Regions from separate parts of the Homo sapiens genome. Here region 2 is linked to region 1. The links are contacts of gene promoters, found by promoter capture Hi-C in human tissues and cell types (Jung and others, 2019). All regions are on one chromosome and are shown on one strand. The core of a region is centred on a gene start or on the middle of the fragment in contact, and the rest is flanking DNA. Distances in the headings are between cores, read along the strand shown. Region 1 holds the start of TRIM45 (tripartite motif containing 45). Region 2 overlaps VTCN1 (V-set domain containing T cell activation inhibitor 1).

What was found. The method cuts DNA at HindIII sites, captures the fragments that hold promoters and counts their contacts. A contact is called where the count stands out against the background at its distance.
Region 2: a contact is called between a fragment that was not itself captured here and the fragment with the promoter of TRIM45 in region 1, in 1 of the 25 tissues and cell types used here (pancreas).

What each region holds. Positions count from the first base shown.
Region 1 is chr1:117,119,010-117,124,729 of GRCh38, forward strand. It overlaps TRIM45 (tripartite motif containing 45), which reads right to left and starts at 2,740. Exons shown (of 6, transcript NM_025188.4): 1 at 1,705-2,740. The coding sequence starts at 2,192. RefSeq lists a silencer at 2,505-2,694 and an enhancer at 3,005-3,174. The HindIII fragment of the contact is 5,274 bases long and covers 1-4,196 here.
Region 2 is chr1:117,171,188-117,176,895 of GRCh38, forward strand. The region is part of intron 1 of VTCN1 (V-set domain containing T cell activation inhibitor 1); the gene reads right to left. Among named protein-coding and RNA genes, the nearest start is that of VTCN1, 37 kb to the right of the region's middle. RefSeq lists enhancers at 366-928, 929-1,490. The HindIII fragment of the contact is 3,755 bases long and covers 1,474-5,228 here.

The sequences.
Region 1 (5,720 bases), core at 1,490-3,989:
TACATGCCTATGCAGAAGGTTGCAAGACTATGACTGCATGCTAGAACTTTCCCAAAGAGTTTAGACAAGAGTCACAGTCGGCTTCCTAAGGTAAGCTAGCAGTGAGGGCATGGCAGAAAACCAGCATCAAGAAACAGAAACCATGCCAGATAACACAGCAATAAAGTCCAAGCAATTAAAAAGCAGACACCAAGTCTCATCTAGCTTGCATCTAAGATTTTGGTGAAGCATTTCTGTTGACCTGTATCACCCAAATCAGCAGGCTAGAATTTTTTTCAAGAGACATCGTCAACATCATTAGAAAGCGTGAAACCGGCCGGGCGCGGTGGCTCACGCCTGTAACCCCAGCATTTTGGGAGGCTGAGGTGGGCGGATCAACTGAGGTCAGGAGTTTGAGACCAGCCTGGCCAACATGGTGAAACCCTGTCTCTACTAAAAATACAAAAAATTAGCCAGGCGTGGTGGCATGTGCCTGTAATCCCAGCTACTGGGGAGGCTGAGGCAGGAGAATCGCTTGAACCTAGGAGGTGGAGGTTGCAGTGAGTGGAGATTGTGTTATTGCACTCCAGCCTGGGCGACTAGAGCCAGACTCCATCTCAGAAAAAAAAAAAAAGAGAAAAGAAAGTGTGAAACCAATGGTTAGTAGAATCAAAGCTCTCTTTCTAATTCCTTTCCTATAGTAGCCCTCTAGAGATGTAGGGAAATCCTTAGGAAAACATGGTGACTGTTCAGAGTTCCTCCATTAGCATTGTATCAATTTGAAGCTTATATGCCTATTCTGGCACCAGAAGAGTGGCTGCAGAGAAAATAGGGTTAGCTGGTTTGGCTGGCAGCAAGACAGTCGCAGGGACTATCACATAATTACAAGTTAAAAATAGAGTGAAGTCTACAAACTTGTTCTGTTAGTGTAGCCAGAAAACAAATGGAAGTAGAACCCGAAACCTATTTTAGGCTAATCCTAAAACTGTGGTCATTTTATATTCTGGTGTCCTAGGATGGGGTAAGGTAAGAGTACGAAGGGACAAAAGTGATCCATCTGACAAACTATTCACCAAATGCCATAAAACACATAGTCTGCACCCCAATTAACACCTACCAGCCCACCTCACCAAGCTCCAGAGTAACTCTAAGGTACACAAAGCAAAAGCTGAGGTCCGGCCAATCATCATCACCTATTCTAGGAGCACAGCATGGGTTACTGGAATGTAGTCAAAATGATCTGGATTTAATACTCAGTTCTGTTACACACTTACCAACTGTAGGACCTTGGCAAATCACATAATATTGCTGAGCTTGTTTCCCCAATTAATAAATGGGGGCGAAAACAGGGCCTGCTTTTCTGTAAGAGTTGCAAGATCGAAGGAGATCAAGAACAGGATCTATGCTGTTATATTCATTCTCCTGTTTCTCCAGCACCCAGTACAATTATTCACTACACGAATGACTGAAGGAAACTGTAGCTGCACTTTGTAAATTGAAAGGGTTTATTGCTATTGCTATATTAGGCTATATATTAGGTACTATATTAGGCTAACCGGGTTAACTGTTGTACTGGAGTATTTGCTATTGCATTGTTATATTGCTCTTTGACCTTCCACGGTATTTGAGAAGGCTTTCCTTTTCATCTGCTCACCGAGGGATTTGTCTTGACACCTCTTTGTAATCTGCTCTTAAGCTACACCTGATGGAGTGTCCCATCTTTACCTATGAGCCTGGCAGCAGAAGTGGCAGAGGTTGGCTTTGCAGGTCTGACACCTCTTCTCTACTTCCCTGTCGTTGCACAGGTCACACACCAGGCCCTGGCCTTCCCCACGTAGGCTCTCCAGCATCACATCATTCACGGCCAGGTGGTCTATGGTTAAAGCCTTCACTCCACCCATGGGCAGGTCCACCTGAGCATCACATACAGGACAAAGGATGCCGATCTGCGACTGCAGACTTCGTGGCTTGAGTTCCTGGAATATTGACCCCTCAGAGCTTGTGTCAGAGTCTCCCCCTCGGATGTCCACTACTGAGAAGGGCTCCAGCTGCTCCAGACACGTGGTGCAAACTGTATGCAAACAAGGCAAGAGCCTGGGGGCTTTGAAAAGCCCCAAGCACAGGGGGCAGTGAGTCTTGCCTGAGTTCCCAAGTGCAGTCCCACTAGTGAGTTTGCTTACAAAGCCCAGCAGCGGTTTTCTGTTTTCTGACATACTCCTCACGTTTGTGACCAATATTAGAAAGGGCCCTGGGCAGTTCTACGATTTAGTAGCAGGTGATTAAGCCCACCCAAAGAGAAAGTCTCCAGAACTTGAACAGAGACCATGGGGACTCCCTCGCTGACAAATAAAAGGGCAGACGGGAAGACGAGGCGTCCTCGAAGGAATCACCCACAGATCTACTCAGGAGGGCCCCCTCCTTTCCACTGCATCCCACACCAGACACGCCCACGCCCTCCTCTGCCCCGCAAGTCCTCCCCGGATGCGCTTCCAGGTCTAGCTCTCCAGCTAGTCCTGCTGCCAACAAAGTCACCCCTGCACCTCTCGCTCCCTCCACTGCCACCCCCCTCCCGCCGCCCGCCCCACTGCGCGCCACACGCGACAAGCGCCGACCCCACCCGCGCACGATGAGGTAGGGGCCCTCTTGCTCCTTCCCTCTGCGAAAGGCGCGCGCCGGGTGAGGGAATTGCAAGCCGCCGGCGGGCTTCTCGGTGTCCACCGCCTCTCCCGCGCCTCGGCCCGGGACGCCCGCGGGCTCTGGCCCCTCCTCACACCAATCCCAGCCCGGTCTACTCCGGCGAGTCCAATCACCGTCCGAGAGCGGCGGCCCTCGCCGCTCCGGGCCCCGCCGCCCTCCAGAGTGACGCCACTAAGCATCCAATAAGTTTTGGAAATTCCACATCTTCGCCAGTCCACTCACGCGGGGGGCGGGACCTGACAAGGCCGTGGGCGGGGCGGCCGAAGGGCTTAGAGTGCGGCGGGAGGAAAAGGCCAAGGCTCGGAGCGAGCGGCATAGTGTAGTCAGCGTCACCGTTTCACAGGGACTGTCCCTCTCTCTGTGGTGACCAGAGAGGCCTCAGGACCTCTTAAAAAGCCACGCTGATTTGGCGCCGGGACGGCCTTCTTTCTGCCCTCGGACTCGTCCCACGAACGCAGACTGGGTTCTCCCATTGGTGGATGGCACTGTCAGTTGGCTCTGCGCTGGGAGTGGGAGACGTTTTTCGGGCTCCCGAGGTCTCGGCCGCTCGGGGGCGCCAGACGTTTCTCCTCCACGCGGGTTTGAGGCTGCGAGGCTCCCCTCTGTCCTCAGGCGCTTACTGTAGCTCACAGGTCCCTCAGGCCTAGCGTGCTGGGTACAAGCACTCCCGCGGCTCCCCGACTTTGGGTATTTTTCGGGGGTGAGGGCATCTCAGGCTCGCGTTACGGGGACCGGTTCGGGAGACCGTGGAGCCGAGGTGTCGAATGGAGGGCTTACTTCGGCCGGGCCAGGGAGCGCCACCCTCCTTGTCGGGCTCGGGAAGGCTTTGTTTTCCGGTCCGGGGGGAGTGCAGATGACCTAAGGAGTTGAATGTCACCCGGGATTCCACAGTCCTGTGTAACAGAAACGAGCTGAGCGAGTTGGACCCGCTGTTTTTATCAGTCAATCACGGAGGGCTCCTGCCTGGTCACAGTGAGACAATGGACGGTGGCAATGAGGGACAAGCCCTTTGTGGGCTTAAAACTAATTGGGAAGATGAACACGTCCGACCCCTTTAACTTTATAATTACACGGCCACCTTCTCTGGCCTTACCAGGCGTCTCCTGATTCTCCAAAATTCCAAAAATGGAAACAGCTGCTCCTTTCCCCTCCACCTGTTGTTATCTCCAGTTGCGTCAGCTTGTCTACTGGGCCCTCACTGCTTTCTTTGTTCATGACCTTCCCTACTTAATTTGTACCCAGTGGGCGACTGTTTCACTTGATTCCTTCATTATCTGTTTCATGCTATAGGCATAGTGTCTGGAGCCTAAGCTTTTAAAAGTATGGAATCTGAAAAAAAGTTAACCCCAAAATATGAAAAAAAAAAAAAAAACCATTATAAAATATAAAAATGAAATGTTTGGCCATTTCCAAAATATAACACGCCAATGAGTCAAATGCCACCTTTATATAAAATGTGCAAGTAATTTCCAAATGTTAAGCATATCTCCAAAGATTTTTAAATAGTCCTTACCTAGATTTTTTTCAGCCTCTTGTCCTTCTTGCATCTACTCTCAAAATCGGCATTCGCCTCTCCAGTAGGCTGGAGGAAGTCACAAAAACTGTGTGGACTTGGGTTTGCTATATATTCTTGCTTTGAACTTCACCTTTACCCTCCCTGCTGCTTGGCTGTGCTTTACTTCATCTCTTGTTCATACTGTATCACATTTCTTGTGGTAGTAGTTTCAAGCTTCTCTTGTTTCAGAAGTACTTCATAATTTACACGTGCAATATCTCATTTAGCAGTATCTCATTTAACCTTTAACAATATTGTAAGGAAATGGCCTCAAAGAGGTCTTGCCAGGTCTTGGATGGCCAGCCCAAGTTAACATATCTGGAACTTGAACACAACCTTATGATGCCATATCTAAGATTATATTCGGGCTACCTCTACCTTTCCCTTTTTTTTTTTTTCTTTTTTTGAGATTGAGTTTTGCTCTTGTTGCCTAGGCCGGAATGCAATGGCAGGATCTCGGCACACTGCAACCTCCACCTCCAGGGTTCAAGCGATTCTCCTGCCTCAGCCTCCCAGGTAGCTGGAATTACAGGCATGCACCACCACACCTGGCTAATTTTTTGTATTTTTAGTAGAGACTGGATTTCACCATGTTGGGCAGGCTCCTCTCGAACTCCTGACCTCAGGTGATCCACCCGCCTCGGCCTCCCAAAGCGCTGGGATTACAGGCGTGAGCCACCGCGCCTGGCCACCTCTACCTTTCCTTTCTCAGTTTATTAAGCATCAAATCCCTCACACATGCTGCAGCTAATTCCCTTCCATTGATGAGAAAAACAAGGTTGTCTGAAGAACTGCCTCGCCTTTCTACTTAAAAAATCCATGATTCCTCACACCTCCTCTCTTACCTCTCCTGACTGCCATTCTTTAGTGCCAAGATTAGTTCCTCAAGATTTTTGTTTTTTATCCCAACCTCTCCTGCTTCCTCAAAACCTTATTCCTATGTTTCAGTCAGTTTTTCTGCCAAGAGTTCTGATGAAGTCCTGAAAGGGGAAGCAAATCGTCTTTTGATCTAGCTCCCCTTCAACGTATTAATAGTGGTGGTTCTCGCCCCTATATTTCTCAAAAGGGTGGTCTCACTGTCTGCTTTCATCATCTTTTTATAACCATCACCACCGATTTATTCCTCCCCTCTTTCCTATTGAGACTTTCTTGTAGATCATGAGTGACCATATTGCTGGCCTTTTCTCAATAGGCAATCTCTTTAGTATTTACCATTTTTTGTACTTCCTCATCCTTAAAACTTGCCTCCTCCTTGACTTCTGAAATACTCTACTCTCCTAACCTTCTGTCTCTTGGGCTGCTTCTCACACCCTCCATCCTCACTAGTTCCCCTTCCTCCACTTTATCTCCTACCTTTGCGTCTACATTTCCTCACGTGGATGATTCCCAGACCAACGCTTCCAGTACTGATGTCTCCCCTGAGCTTTTGACATAGATTTCTAAATCTGCACTCAAATATGTTCCTATCACCAAGTCCCACATAGCTTAA
Region 2 (5,708 bases), core at 2,101-4,600, 53 kb after region 1:
CTTTTTTATGGCTGCATAGTATTCTATGGTGTATACGTGCCACATTTTCTTTATCCAGCCTATCATTGATGGACATTTGGGTTGGTTCCAAGTCTTTGGTATTGTAAATAGTGCTGCAATAACCACATGTGTGCATGTATCTCTATAGTAGAATGATTTATAATCCTTTGGGTATATACCCAGTAATGGGATTGCTGGGTCAAATGGTACTTCTGGTTCTAGATCCTTAAGGAATCACCACACTGTCTTCCACAATGGTTGAACTAATTTACACTCCTACCAACAGCGTAAAAGCGTTCCTATTTCTCCACAGCCTCGCCTGCATGTGTTGTTTCCTGACTTTTTAATTATCAGCATTCTAACTGGTGGATCCTCACCAATTTTTAATGAACAGATTAACAAATGACACCCGGGAAACTAAATAAACAAATAAGGAAGTATTGCTTACATGTACTAAGTGCTAGAATTATATGGCAGACATGTTGTTCCAACCAAGCAGCATGTATAACTTATATCAATTATCCATTTAGTAACCTTAGGAGGAGAACAAATTTTATTGTCTCCATTTTATAGATGGGGAAGTGACACAGGGAGATTAAGCATCTTCCCTAAAGTCACACAGTTGGCAAGTGGCAGAGCAGAGATTAGAATTTGTCTCTTAAATCTGTACTCAACTCCCTCCAAGTGTACCAAGGGTAGGAGCTCACCGATGGGGCGTGTCCCTTTTCTTTGCCAAGGGGAACAAGCACTCCATGAGGGGTCACCTGCTTTAGCTCGTGAGAGTGACTCAGGCAGAGCAGAAGGCATAGGTCAAAGTGGTTCCTGGGAAGCTCGCCCGTTGCTGCCTGTCCTGGCGCATACATCATCGGTCAGACGTCCTCAGCCGCCCGCTCACACGGCTGCCAATTCACACGCTCCCAACACCCACGCTGATGTTACTCAATAGGCAGGACAAAAGAAAGGCACAGGGAGGCAAAGAACGATGCTATAGAGAGAAAAAAGAAACGCGGGGCTTTGCACTTTCTGCCCTGAATAGGCTCATTGTTCCCAGCCTCCTATGGCTCAGGAATGGGCCCACCAGACAGAAACAACAGTTCCCCTGCCGGCCAAGCCCTCATAAGGTGCAGCCACAAGGCAGCAAGCGAAGCTTTAAATAATAGGGCATCTGCTAAATTGATTCCAAGGGAGACCATATTTGGCCACTGCTCCTCTTTTCCCACACCTCAGTGTAGCCTCAGTTCTTACTGGTCCAAGAGAGTGAGAACAGCTAGATAAAGTCATAGCGAGAGGCACCATCTGCTGTCTTTGACTACTGACACAGGCAGCCGACTTGTGTGTGGCCTAGGGTTTTCATTTACTTTGGATAAAATACTTCATCGCTCTGAGGCTTATTTTTTTGTAAAATGGGAAACAGAGTAATTCCTGCTTTACCTATTATAAAGGCTGCATGTGTCCCCCCCCACATTCACATGTTGAAGTCCTAACCCCAAGTACCTCAGAGTGTGCCTTTACTTACTAATGGGGTCATTGTGAGAGGTGAAGCCAGCTGGACTTCCTAGGTCGAGTGGGGGACTTGGAAAACTTTTCTGTCTGAAGGATTGTAAATGCACCAATCAGCACTCTGTAAAAATGCACCAATCAGCACTCTGTATTTAGCTAAAGGATTGTAAACGCACGGATCAGCACTCTGTAAAATGGACCAATCAGCAGGATGTGGGTGAGGCCAAATAAGGGAATAAAAGCTGGGCACCCCAGACAGCAGCGGCAAACTCCTCCGGTCCCCTTCCATGCTGTGGAAGCTTTGTTCTTTCGCTCTTCACAGTAAATCTTGCTGCTGCTCCCTCTTTGGGTCTGCACTACCTTTATGAGCTGTAACACTTACCGTGAAGGACCGCAGCTTCATTCCTGAAGTCAGAGAGACCAGAACCCACAGGGAGGAGCAAACAACTCCGGAACAAACAACTCCGGACGCGCCACCTTTAAGAGCTGTAACACTCACCGCGAGGTCAGCGGCTTCATTCTTGAAGTCAGCAAGACCATGAACCCACCAGAAGGAATAAATTCCGGACACAATTGCAGATGTAGTTAGTTAAGGTCATACCAGAGTAGGGTAGTGGTTAATTCCTAATCCAATATGGCTGGTGTCCTTATAAAAAGGGGAAATTTGGACACAGATGAACACACACACACACACACACACACAACACCATGTAAAGATGAAAGCAGAGATCTACAACTCAAGGAACACCAAAGGTTGCCAGCAAAACTCCAGAATCTGGGAGAGAGATGCAATGGATTCTCTTTCACTGCTCTCACAGGTAACAAATCCTGCAGACATGTCCATCCTGGCCTCCAGCCTCTAGAGCTGAGAGATAATACATTTCCATTTCTAAGCCACCTGGTTTTCAGTACTTTGTTACAACAGCACTAGCAAACTAATACAAAAAGGTTGTTTCAGGATCAAATTAGATAATAAATGTGGCATTATTCAGAAAGGGCTATTCATACACTACTTTTTACTATAAATAAATTTTACTTATAAACTATTGCTGTAAGTTTATTATTAAAAGCTGTGACTTTTACGGGAGGGGACCTGAACAGCGACACTGAACAGATACCTGGGCCCTTGCCAAGAAGAGGGGGGACAATGGAAGTTGTGCATTTCGGCCAAAGCTCCTGAGCCCCTCCATCACACCAGGCCCACGTTTCCCTCGCTGTGAAAACAACCCTGCCATCTGTCACCAAATTCCCTATCAGGGCAGGAATCACCGTGAGGTTTGTTCTGAGCTAGTATTCCCTTGGGAAACAATTCAACTTCCAGAGCCTTGGAAAGAGAAGCAGGAACTACCAGAGCAGCTAAATTAATTCTTGCCTATTGCTTATTAATTTTTTAGAAAGATGAAAAAAATATTTCACTTCAGGGGTTCTTACATTGCTTTCTGATCTTTGCTTTCCCCTCAATGGTTTCCAATAACTATGCTGCAGGAAATTTTTAATGCAAAACTATGTCTTCTAACCACTGCATTGGGATTCACAGTGTACTTTTGGTACCCACTCATTACAAAAGGGCCCAAATAAAAATCAATGCTTTTGGAGGACTTGCTCATTCAGTAAACATTTATTAAGTACTTACTATGTGAAAGACATAGTGCTAGTCAATATGAAAGAAATGGAGAGATGATATAAACAAGGTCCCTGCCCTCAAGAAGCTTATAGTTAAACTGACGTGACATACACACAAACCTTTGTAATAATCTGAGGCAGAATGTGATCAGGGCTTTAGTAAAGAAATGAACAGGCCAGGCGCGGTGACTCACGGCTGTAATCCCAGCACTTTGGGAGGCCGAGGCGGGCGGATTACCTGAGGTCAGGAGTTCAAGACCAGCCCGGCCAACATGGTGAAACCCTGTCTCTACTAAAGATACAAAAATTAGCTGGGCGTGGTGGCAAGTGCCTGTAATCCCAGCTACTCGGGAGGCTGGGGCAGGAGAATTGCTTGAGCCCGGGAGGTGGAGATTACAATGAGCCAAGATCTAGGGAGGTAGGAAGAATTTAAACCCAGGGGAAACAGAGATAATCAAAGTGCATTTCCATGAACAAATTTCAAAGAAAGTGAAGAAAAAGGCTTTATTCAGAAATATATTGAGCTGATCCATGCTGTTACACACTCTCTGTCCAAGGCAGAAACACACAGAAAAGGTATTATTTCTGCTGCACTGGGGGTGCAGGGGGTCAGGATCTAAGCATTGCACTTTAGTGCTCTGGGCTGTGGGCTGGGAAGGTGCTTTCAGAGGCTGCAGAACCCAGAGCCTTCCAGGTGAAGGAGCAGCTTTGCAGCCTGGAATTCTGTCTCCATTCCTGAGGAGGGCCTGGTTCGATTCCCTCACATGCCTGCTTCAGCTGCTGCTGCCTTCTGCAGCATGTGAAAGAAATTGGGCCTTTGTTAAAACATATGCACATTCCTGAAAAGCCTCACATTCACAATAAAGGTAACAGGCCTTATGGGGGAAAATAGGCTTAAAGGCAGAGCGCTCGAAACCTATGCGACTTTGTAATTAGTCTACTAACAGAAACAATAACTAGTACCTCGGGAGATAACTTAGACAGACAAGGCAGGCACTCAGTAGGGCCAGAAACTACTTCAGGGGATATAAAAAATGCACAGATATAATAAAATAAACACTCCCGCTGCTGGGTGCTGTGAGCCGGCGTGGTCGCTGTGAAGCGGATGTGCAGCCTAGGACACGCAAGGGTAGGATGTACTTCTCTGGAGAGGGAGCCCCGTGTGCAGATGTTCATTCAAAAAAATTCTTTTTCATAAAATAAAAATAGAACTGAAAGCCATGCTAAGCTTTTCCCACTGAAGTTCTCATTCTATTCTGCTATTTCAACTCTCCTTGCTTTGAAAGAAAAGGCATGTGAACCAACACAACGTCCATGTTGTCCTGCCATCATTCCCGTTTTGCAACCACACATGAGCTCATTGATGCTATAGAAACATATACTGCAGCGGACAGGCTGTATTACTGTATCACACACCAAAAAATAAACCAGAAGAGAGATACCTATCTCTCTCTCTCTCTCTCTTTTTTTTTTTTTTTGAGATGGAGTTTCACTCTGTTGCCCAGGCTGGAGTGCACTGGCATGATCTCAGTTCACTGCAACCTCCGCCTCCCAGGTTCAAGCGATTCTCCCGTCTCAGCTTCCCGAGTAGCTGGGATTACAGGCACGTGCCACCACGCCCGGCTAATTTTTTATTTTTAGTAGAGACAGGGTTTCACCATGTTGGCCAGGCTGGTCTTGAACTCCTGACCTCAGGTGATCCACCTGCCTCGGCCTCCCAAAGTGCTGGGATTACAGGTGTGAGCCACCATGCCTGGCCAGAGACACCTATCTCTTAAACAACCTTTCATTTATCAGAGGTCCATGGCATGGCATAACAAGAGCCGATGCTTATCAGGCATAATGCCTCATTATATTGTTTCTCATTCAACCCTACAGCAACCCCATGAGGTAAGTACTACTCTCATTACCTTTTTACATGTGGGGAAACTGAGGCTTAGCTTAAGTAACAGATGAAGCTGTCACAGCTGGAAGGTGGGAATGTCAGGTCTCAATTTGAGGGTGTATGACTTACAGACTTGAGGTCTTAACTACATGCTATACTTCTAGAAAAAGTGGCAGGAGGCCTCATGTTTGGAAGGCTCCTGTCACCTCCTCGAGCACCTTTTCTAAAAACAAGAGCTTTCTGGATCTGCTACACAGTGTGGAAAGCTCAAAATGCTCAGTCTGGAAAACATAAAATGCTTTTTGTTTTATTCAAACATGAATGGTTTCTATGTTCTCGAGTTTCTGCCTCCTTCTCAAATACTAACAGAACTGGGAGATACCACATTCCTTATAGATCATTAGTTTAGCTCCACTCGTGTGATTGATAAATGTTTAAAACCCTGAAAACTAGATTAGTTTTGCAAATGTGTGATTTATTTGAATATACCAAGGAGGATATTTGAGTAAATCAAGTTGCAGCAAACATATTACATTGTTCACAAACCAACGAGGTGACTAGGTTTATAAAGAATGCTGAAATTAAAGACATTTACTTCAGCCTATCCAAAGAGGAGATTAAGGCTGAGTGTGGTGGCTCATGCTTGTAATCCCAGCACTTTGGGAGGCCCAGGAGGGCAGAGCACTTGAGGTCAGGAATT